3 separate regions of the Homo sapiens genome follow, and all the other regions are linked to region 2. Evidence: promoter capture Hi-C in 16 types of primary human blood cells and fetal thymus (Javierre and others, 2016). All regions are on one chromosome and are shown on one strand. Each heading gives the region's core, a stretch centred on a gene start or on the middle of the fragment in contact. The rest is flanking DNA. Distances are from core to core; before and after follow the strand shown.

The links. Contacts are between HindIII fragments. The CHiCAGO score rates a contact against its expected background, and 5 or more counts as called.
Region 1: a contact is called between a fragment that was not itself captured here and the fragment with the promoter of GCM1 in region 2, in 1 of 17 cell types (neutrophils). The highest score is 5.5, in neutrophils.
Region 3: a fragment that was not itself captured here is called in contact with the fragment with the promoter of GCM1 in region 2 in 1 of 17 cell types (neutrophils); the score reaches 6.0 in neutrophils.

Annotation. Positions count from the first base shown.
Region 1 is chr6:53,374,904-53,377,603 of GRCh38, forward strand. No RefSeq gene overlaps it. Among named protein-coding and RNA genes, the nearest start is that of ELOVL5, 27 kb to the left of the region's middle. The HindIII fragment of the contact is 7,566 bases long and covers 1-2,700 here.
Region 2 is chr6:53,147,272-53,150,216 of GRCh38, forward strand. GCM1 (glial cells missing transcription factor 1) reads right to left here and starts at 1,570. Exons shown (of 6, transcript NM_003643.4): 1 at 1,483-1,570. It also overlaps the pseudogene LOC124901513. The HindIII fragment of the contact is 12,096 bases long and covers 112-2,945 here.
Region 3 is chr6:53,395,500-53,398,288 of GRCh38, forward strand. No RefSeq gene overlaps it. Among named protein-coding and RNA genes, the nearest start is that of GCLC-AS1, 35 kb to the right of the region's middle. The HindIII fragment of the contact is 5,160 bases long and covers 1-2,789 here.

The sequences.
Region 1 (2,700 bases), core at 14-2,513, 230 kb after region 2:
GTTAGCTTGACACCACAGTAGAGGGTCTTGGAAGAAGCCATTTAGATTTTGGGTAACTGAGAGTGTTTTGTGGTTTTTGATAAAGAAAACAAATACGAACTTACCTGTGTTTAGGAAGGTTACTGTGGCAGGGGTGAGAAGGATGCACCAGGTAGGGCAAAACAAATTAGGAGGGTTTTACACAAGCGTGTTATGAGATAATGGAGTTATAGCAAGACAATAGGAAGGACAGGAGAGATGAGAGACTGCAGAAGTAGAAACGACATGAGTTCATGATGGCTGATGGGCTAGAGGAGAAAATTCTTGAAGGTGATAGAGAAGTTGTTGATGATAGAGAGGTTGTCGATGACATCAACCATTAAAAATGTAAGGCAATGAGGAGGTTTTTGATTGATGGATGTGAGTGATACTATAAATGCAATTTGGATATCTTGTACCAACTATCCAGGACAGGATAATTTACATCATTTATATCAAGTAATTCAATTCAACTCAACACATATTTCTGGTGTCCTTACCACCTGCTAAGTGGTAGAAATGATTTAAGTATGAGAAGAGAAATCCTGCTGTAAATGGCCTTCGGTATAATGAAGGAAGTAAATATAAGCATGAACAATAACAAAAGGTGAAATACCGTATGATATGTTATGAGAGGTATAAGAGCCATTGAGACCTGAAGAAGGAAAAGAATATAGTTATTTAGGGGCAAGCTGTAATGCTTAGAACAGGATAGGATAGAAAATACATTTTTTAAAATTGAAAAGCAATATTATCAATAAACATATAATAAATATTTTTTAAAAAAATCTATTAAAATATCAAATTCAGAGAAATCAAATAAAAGTGGACTCAGTGTGCAACCAAATGTAATGGATATACTGTGATAATCTTAGTGAATTCCTTCTAAGGGGCTGGTACAAGATGTGCAAGTGAAAATCTATGCCTATAAACAGCTAAGAAAAAGAGATAGGCAAAGATGATTTGGGATATTTTAACTTACTGTAGATTATCATTATAGACTTGAGCTCTACACACTTTGACAATCTGTTGATTCTATGCCTGAACACTTTGAAATACCACAGCCTAGGATTTTGATGGGCTGGTCAGTTCCCAGGCAACTTGGCTAATGAGAGCAACTTCTGTGGCACTGCAGTAGACCTTGTAAGCATAAGCAGCTGGACAAACCTCTTTGTGAGATTGTGAAACTCATGATTTTTTCAGCACTACTTTCCTGAGTTGATTTGATAATAACTGTTCTTCCAAACCATCAGTAGTAAGTTCTTTTAGTTAAGTGATAAATCATAGCCAGATTGTACTGCAAACTGGTTGATGTTTAACTTCTTCAGCATTCATAGATGTCTCTGAAAATTCATGTTTGGTTAGGTCCAGTATAGCATAATTTATTTTTCCTTAAAATTTCCAACCATTGCCTCAAAAGAGACAAACACTTTGGCCTGAGCATCAAGTATCATATTCGCCCGTTTTTTCTGACCAGGAAAATGTTTCAATCTATGTGTCTTCACTTCTCATTCATTTTTTTAAGTTTCCCATTTTCTCTGCATAAGTAGTTGCTTCCTGTCTTCCAGCTGGGCAAAAATTTCTAGTATCAGAAGTTAGGAGTATTGTGCATGATTATATTGGCTCTTTTGCTTTGTTGTAAACAATACACTTAGTTTTATCATACTATTTGTGAAGTTTTATTGAATAATTGTGAGGCAGGTTTCCAAAGGCACATTGATTATTGACTGCAGATTGAGATAGATCAGGAGGTTCAGTTCTGTGTCCTCTTAATAGAGTTGATAAATCATCATTTTCAATTGGAATGACATCTGACCACCAAACAGGAACACCTTGTACTCTCTTGCCTTTTGTCTCAGGATTAGGAGGGCAATTGGAACCACCAGCCAAAGCAGACGTCTCAGCATCTCTTAGCCTTTGCCCCATTCCAGACAGGATGCTAGAGGTAGACTCAGCTAAGAATTATTATCTGGTCTCCTTAGCAGAGGGTGTTGATTTTAAGTACCTTGGTTTTTTTTTGGAAACAGAGTTTTGCTCTGACGCCCAGGCAGGAGTGAAGTGGCGTGATCTTGGCTCACTGCAACCTCTGCCTCCTGGGTTCAAGAGGTTCTTATTCCACAGCCTCCTGAGTAGCTGGGACTACAGGCACGGGTCACCACACCTAGCAATTTTAAGTATACCTTAAAGTATGCTCTGATTCCAGATGTTTGCACTGAGAGTCTGTTAGTTTTTTTAAAAACCTATTTTTTTGTGTTTCTGTTTTATGAAAGTAATACGGCTTGTAGAAAATTTGAAAATACCAAGTTTGAAGAAAATAGCCCATCATATCACAACTCACTCACTGTTAATGTCTTATTGCCATCTTGTCTTTGTAAAACACAATTTATAGATACATCTTAGTTATTATACATATATAAACATTATATATGTATATTCCTAGTTTTTTACTTTAATTTTGCTAGCAAATTTTGTGTGTTTTATGTTTGAACAACAAATCACTTTGCGCTCTAGTAACCTCTGGACTTGTCTTGTTTCTCTCTGTTACACATTTACTTGACAAAAAGTACCTTTGTGTCAGGTCAGCATGGGACCTTTGGTTATATTTCATTTATACTGCAGATGTCCAGGAAGGGGGATTATACCATGTTTCCAGTATGTACTAGGTTAGAATATCCTAGGGGA
Region 2 (2,945 bases), core at 320-2,819:
CACATGTATAACATTTCATTTATTGGTACTCTTATAAAAACAAGAGACATAATGATGTTATGTAGAGCTATTTAATAGCGAACTCAAACTATAAGGTAGATTAATAGTCTAAGCTTTGGCGAGACCCATGAACTCTTTTCTTTAGTTTTTATTGTTTTTTTTTTTTTTTTTTTTTTAATGGAGTCTTACTCTTATCACCCAGGCTGGAGTGCAGTGGCGCAATCTCAGCTCACCATAGCCTCCACCTCTGGGGCTCCAGTGATTCTTTTACCTCAGCCTCCCAAGTAGCTGGGATTACAGGCACGCACCACCACACCCAGCTAATTTTTGTATTTTCAGTAGAGATGGGGTTTCACCATGTTGACCAGGCCGGTCTTGAACTCCTTTCCTCAGGTGATCCATACGTCTCTGTCTCCCAAAGTGCTGGGATTACAGGCATGAGCCACTGTGCCCGGCCTGTTCTTTAGTTATTTAGTGTTATATAATCCTAATACTTGTCAATCACTGAACTCTACCAAGGGAAAGTGTATGTATATAAAAGACCGTTGACCTGAACATAAGAATGAAGTTCCTTTTTTCTTTTTTGTGTGTGCTCTAGATGTCCAGAGAAATTTCTCTAGTAACAAACTATAGAAATGATCCCTGAAAGTATAGTCTTTATAAATAAAGTTCTTGACCATTAAATGACAAGCTAATCAGAGTCTCTTCCTGTCTGTTCCACATACCCATACTGAGCTACAACCTAGTGGTTGCAGAGCACGAAGTTTCTGTTCCCCAACTGAATGTTGATTTTCAAGACTAAATCCTCATGGATTTTAAGTAAAATTCTATGTTTAGGAAAGAAACATTGTGTTACTGAAGAAATGATGCCGCAAATTGACTCTAATTCAAAGGACTTAAATAACAGGTATAGAAGATGCAGATACCAAGCAGCAGTTCCGTGTACTTACCCTGAACAGTAACGATATTGTCTCTGATGGTGCAAATTTTGTTATAACTAATTGGAATAGATCTACTTTTTAAAAACCTTGGCAAATAAGATTCATATTTTCAAAAATCAAAAACATTGTTATAAAGCCTAGGCAATATAGACATAATTATTTTGTTTTTAAATTAAGGGAAGAATAATAAAGAAAATTTTATTACAGAACAACTATGTTACATTTTAGATTTTTCTCTCGATATTAACATTTGCTAAGCGAATGAGCATTAATTTAATATTTCCCTAAAAGTTAAGAACAAAACATAGAAAAGAAGAAAAAACCATTTTACAGCCCTTAAGTAAACTCTGTTTTCCTCTTCTAGGATTGAAAAACTACACTTGTCAAGACTCCTTTTTTTAAAGCAACTTGCGCAAAGTATATTCAATTTTCATCATTTCTACAGAAAAATGAACTAGAACAAATGAAACCCTGTAGGAATAGAGTGGTCGTTGCCACATCCCTTACATTTGCCTCTCCACGGGATTTCTGGCTTTCTTACCTTCTAACTTCTTACGGAGAAGCAGACAGCACTGTGTCGTGAAAATCTTACTGCTGGTTCAAGTCCCAGCAGGCTCTGGTCATTTTCTGAGCAGACGCTGTTCCCTATTCCAGGTCAGGGTACACTATGCTAATGAGTTCTGGCAATGGTCCAATCAAAATCTAGATGCTCTAGGCTCTGGATAGGTAAGAGCAGCCTGGGAGTCACTTAACCAGCCTGATTCTTCCCAGAATGCCAGCAATGTGATGAATATTCTATGATGTGTCTCTGAACTTCCCCCTCCCTTTATGTTATGAGGACATTTGAACTAAAATGGACATTGAAAAGAACCTCATAAGGAAGTACAGATGTTTTTCTTCTTGTGATGTTACAGGTTGGGCCCCAGGCAGACGATTCACAGTAGGTCCTAATTCTCCCACTATTTACCCGGCAGGTAATAGTTCTCTCTCATGTGTGCAAGAGAGAGAAGACAGACAGACAGAGATAGAGAGATATTATGGTGAGGAAATTTACTGGAATAGACAGTGGATAGCCAACATCCTCTATACCAGAAATACTGAAATGCTATCTTAACCCTAGCAATAATGTCCCACTAATTCTAAGTGTTCTGATCCCCTAAAAATATACAATTCTTGGCCGGGCGTGGTGGCTCACACCTGTAATCCTAGCACTTTGGGAGGCCGATGTGGGCGGATCACAAGGTTGGGAGTTCAAAACCAGCCTGGCCAAGATGGTGAAACCCCGTCTCTACTAGAAATACAAAAATTAGCCAGGTGTGGTGGCGAGCGCCTGTAATCCCAGCTATTTGGGAGACTGAGGCAGAGAATTGCTTGAACCCGGGAAGCGGAGGTTGCGTGAGCTGAGATTGCGTCACTGCAGTCAAGCCTGGGTGACAGAGCGAGGCTCCATCTCAAAAAAACAAAAACAAAACAAAACAAAACAACAAAAAAAAACGAACAAACAAAAACCAATTATTTCTTCTAGAGATACCCTCAGTGCTATTCTTCCTTTTAGAGACATCCGCAGTACAGCCTAAATCAGTTCAGTTCATATGTTTTGTTCTAGGTAGTCTGCCAGGCCTTGGCAACACAAGAGAGAATGAAAGCCATTAAGAAGTTCATTCTAGTAGAAAAGATGATTAAAGCTACTAAATAAGGCCGATTTAATTTGATGTATAGAATAAAAGTAATATAAATGAGAAGGCTATTAAGCTGGAGGGAGGAGAACCAAAGGAAACCCACCAAAATAATGCTCGATGAGCCTTTTGAAGGACAAATAGATATTTATCAAGGCGTGAAGGACTGGAAGAGGGTGTTTCGGGGAGTGACAATATCCTGGACAACATGACGAGGGATCAGTACCTGTCAGGAAGGTCCAGACTTTCAAGGATGAGGCTTAGGAGGCAGAGATGAGAAGGCGAGAAGGCAAAAGGCTTGGAAAGCCTCATAGTTGCATTCGGCGGC
Region 3 (2,789 bases), core at 112-2,611, 250 kb after region 2:
GGGTAGGGAAGAATAAAAGTATTTAACTTCTCAAGAAATTGACAACCTAGATGGAAAGAGAAGATTAAGACACTTGAGAAAATGATAATTTGAGGCCACATATCTCTGTGTCGAATTGTGTGTGTGACTCTATTTCTACCTTCAAAAATTTTATAATCTTGTAAAATACTATTTAAACAAAGGATATATTTACAAAGTTAAATAAAGACAGAAGCAATAAAAATTACTATAAAGGGAGAATTGCAAAGCCAAGGGATTTGGGAACAGACCAGAGGAATCTCATTTTGTCTGGAGGACTTGAGATGGTTTCATGGAGGAAGGGACATTTAAGCTGGTGTCGAGGAGTCTGTAAATAGTGCTGGTTAGAGGTAGGGGTGTGAGGATGAAGGCGTTAAAGGCAGAGGGAACTATGAAAGTAAAGGCATGGCCAATGAAAATATTTGGCATTTTTGAAAAATGGCAACTGTCCTGCACCTAGAAGACAGGGGGTGAGGGATATAGGGGATGTGAAAGGATGAGGAGGGCTGGCCAGAGAGGCAAGGAGGTGTTGGGCCAGAGTGTAACTGTGCTGATGGTTTGGACTGTATCAGCTGAGTAACAGGGAGACACTGAAGGTGTTTTATTAGGGATGTGACAAGATCAGATCTGTGTCTTAGATGATTCTGACAGCAAGGTGAATGACATATTGGGATGGAGTGGGAGGACAGCTAGAAAGAGTGAAATGCTTAGGAAACTTCTGCAGTTGATGGTTACAGAGTGAGCTAGTGAAGATCTAAATTAGAGAGCTCCCTGAAAATGAAGAGATGGTTGTAGAGATAATTCAGAAGTAAACTGATTGGAAGAACTTGGGGACTAGTGAAAGTGCTAGGAATGTTTTCAAGTAAGATGAGTACTAACTATGCCATCAGGTCACAAGAATCCCTAACACATTTCTAGGACCCCAAAACAAAAGCTGCACTTTGAAATGCCCAGATCTGCTAATTCATTTTTTCCTGAACTCCCTTGTCCTCATCCCCTGGCTCCCTTCTCAGAATTTACTCTGAAAAGTCTCTGCCTGAATCCGAAAGGCCTTTCCCAGTTTGCACATAATCCTCCAGTGGACTGGGCAAAGACTTTTCATGGCCATGTTGGGAAAGAGGCCGTTGCAGTTTAGGATGGCAATCCTTAAGGGATGTTCTGGCATTCCCTGGGTTACAGACTTTCTCACAGCCTTGGGTGTGCTCCCACTATTCCCTCTTTTCTTTATAGCTGTCACCCTGTCACTCTCACTAAACTTGTCTGCTGCTCAAACCATACCTATGCACACCATTGGTTTCCATTGCTGATAAGGCTGAGACTAGTTGGATGTGACCTTTTGCTCTTTTCTAAACTGTATGTGCCCTCTTGTTGTTTTCTCAAAATTTCTCCTTTCCAAAAGACTTTCAAAATCTCTTGCCTACCTCTTGTTTGTATGCTGTAGTAGGTGTTTATATTTACTGTATGTGTGCCCTGTGATTTGATTGTAAGCCTCTTGCAGGCTCCGCTCTGCTCAATTCCTTTTTGGTGACTACTAAATGTGTCAAAGATAAACAAAGCTAAATACTAGTTAAAGTGGTAAAGACAGATTTTAATCAGTAATATACTATTGCAATAGGAATAACAGTACAGTGTGAATTGAACTGAACTTTGATTTGTCCAGAGGTGACTGGGTAATTTAAATGGAGAATAAGGAAATAGGGAGTGAGTGAGCAGGGGGTCAGTAGAATGTGGGAAGTGGAGAAACTTACAAAAAGCAGGAAAGGGAGGTTGTCCACGTGAAATTCATCTGGGTTTTCTAACTGGTGCTTACTGAAGTTAGGTCCCTACCCTCCCACAATGACTGGTGGACAGAGGCCCTATCTTCAGGTGTTGACTGGAACAAACAGTAGATTTTTCGCAAATCTTGAGTTTTCTCAGCAGGCACTTTAAGGAAAGCTGGAGCTGTTAGAAGCTATGTTAGTGTTTGTTCAAGTCTTTATAGGTCAAAGTTGGGCCTTAGTCAAGAGGAAGGCTCAAAGGATCCTGGCTCAAGTTTGAGCAAGAAGAGAATCCATGCCACAGTGGGTTATGAAAATCAAGAACAACTGGGAAAATATCCACTGTGGTCTCAATAGAAGATCCTGATAAAAGGAAAGGAACATTACAAGGAAACGAGTTAAGGAATACTTTTAAATACTCTGCCCACTGACAAGGCTGCTAAATTCCATCCACCAAAAACTAGGTGCACCTTCCATACTATATGCTGCTAAAATCTAAACAAAAAACTATGTACCTTATACATATGTGGTCTCTCAGGATAAACAAAAATTGATGTTGTACATTGAATTTTTGTTTAAATATCTTGTACATTAAATTAACTGGCTCCTAATGAAGCATAGAAGTAGTGATTCAGATTGACTTGTCATTTAATACATTGTTTCCTTAGAATGAAAAAAAGAGACTGTTTCTTCCAAATATTTAGCTTTATCATTTAAAAATAGTTATATAATAGTCCATTAGCCTTTATTATTTGCACTTTGTAAATGTAGTAGGTTCCCTTTTGATTTTCTGCCTCTATTTGAAATTGGTCATTTGACTTATTTACTTGGTATTCTGGTTGGCTGTTATTTATGACTAGTGACATAGTGACCCTCTTTTCTCATACGATGTTCATCGTTAACTCTTTCCATGGTCCAAAAGGCCAAAAGAGGAGGTAGATAAGTATGGGATAAACTTCAAGGCTTAATGTACTTTTTAATGAAAACATAAGGATAAAAGAAGTAGATAATGTG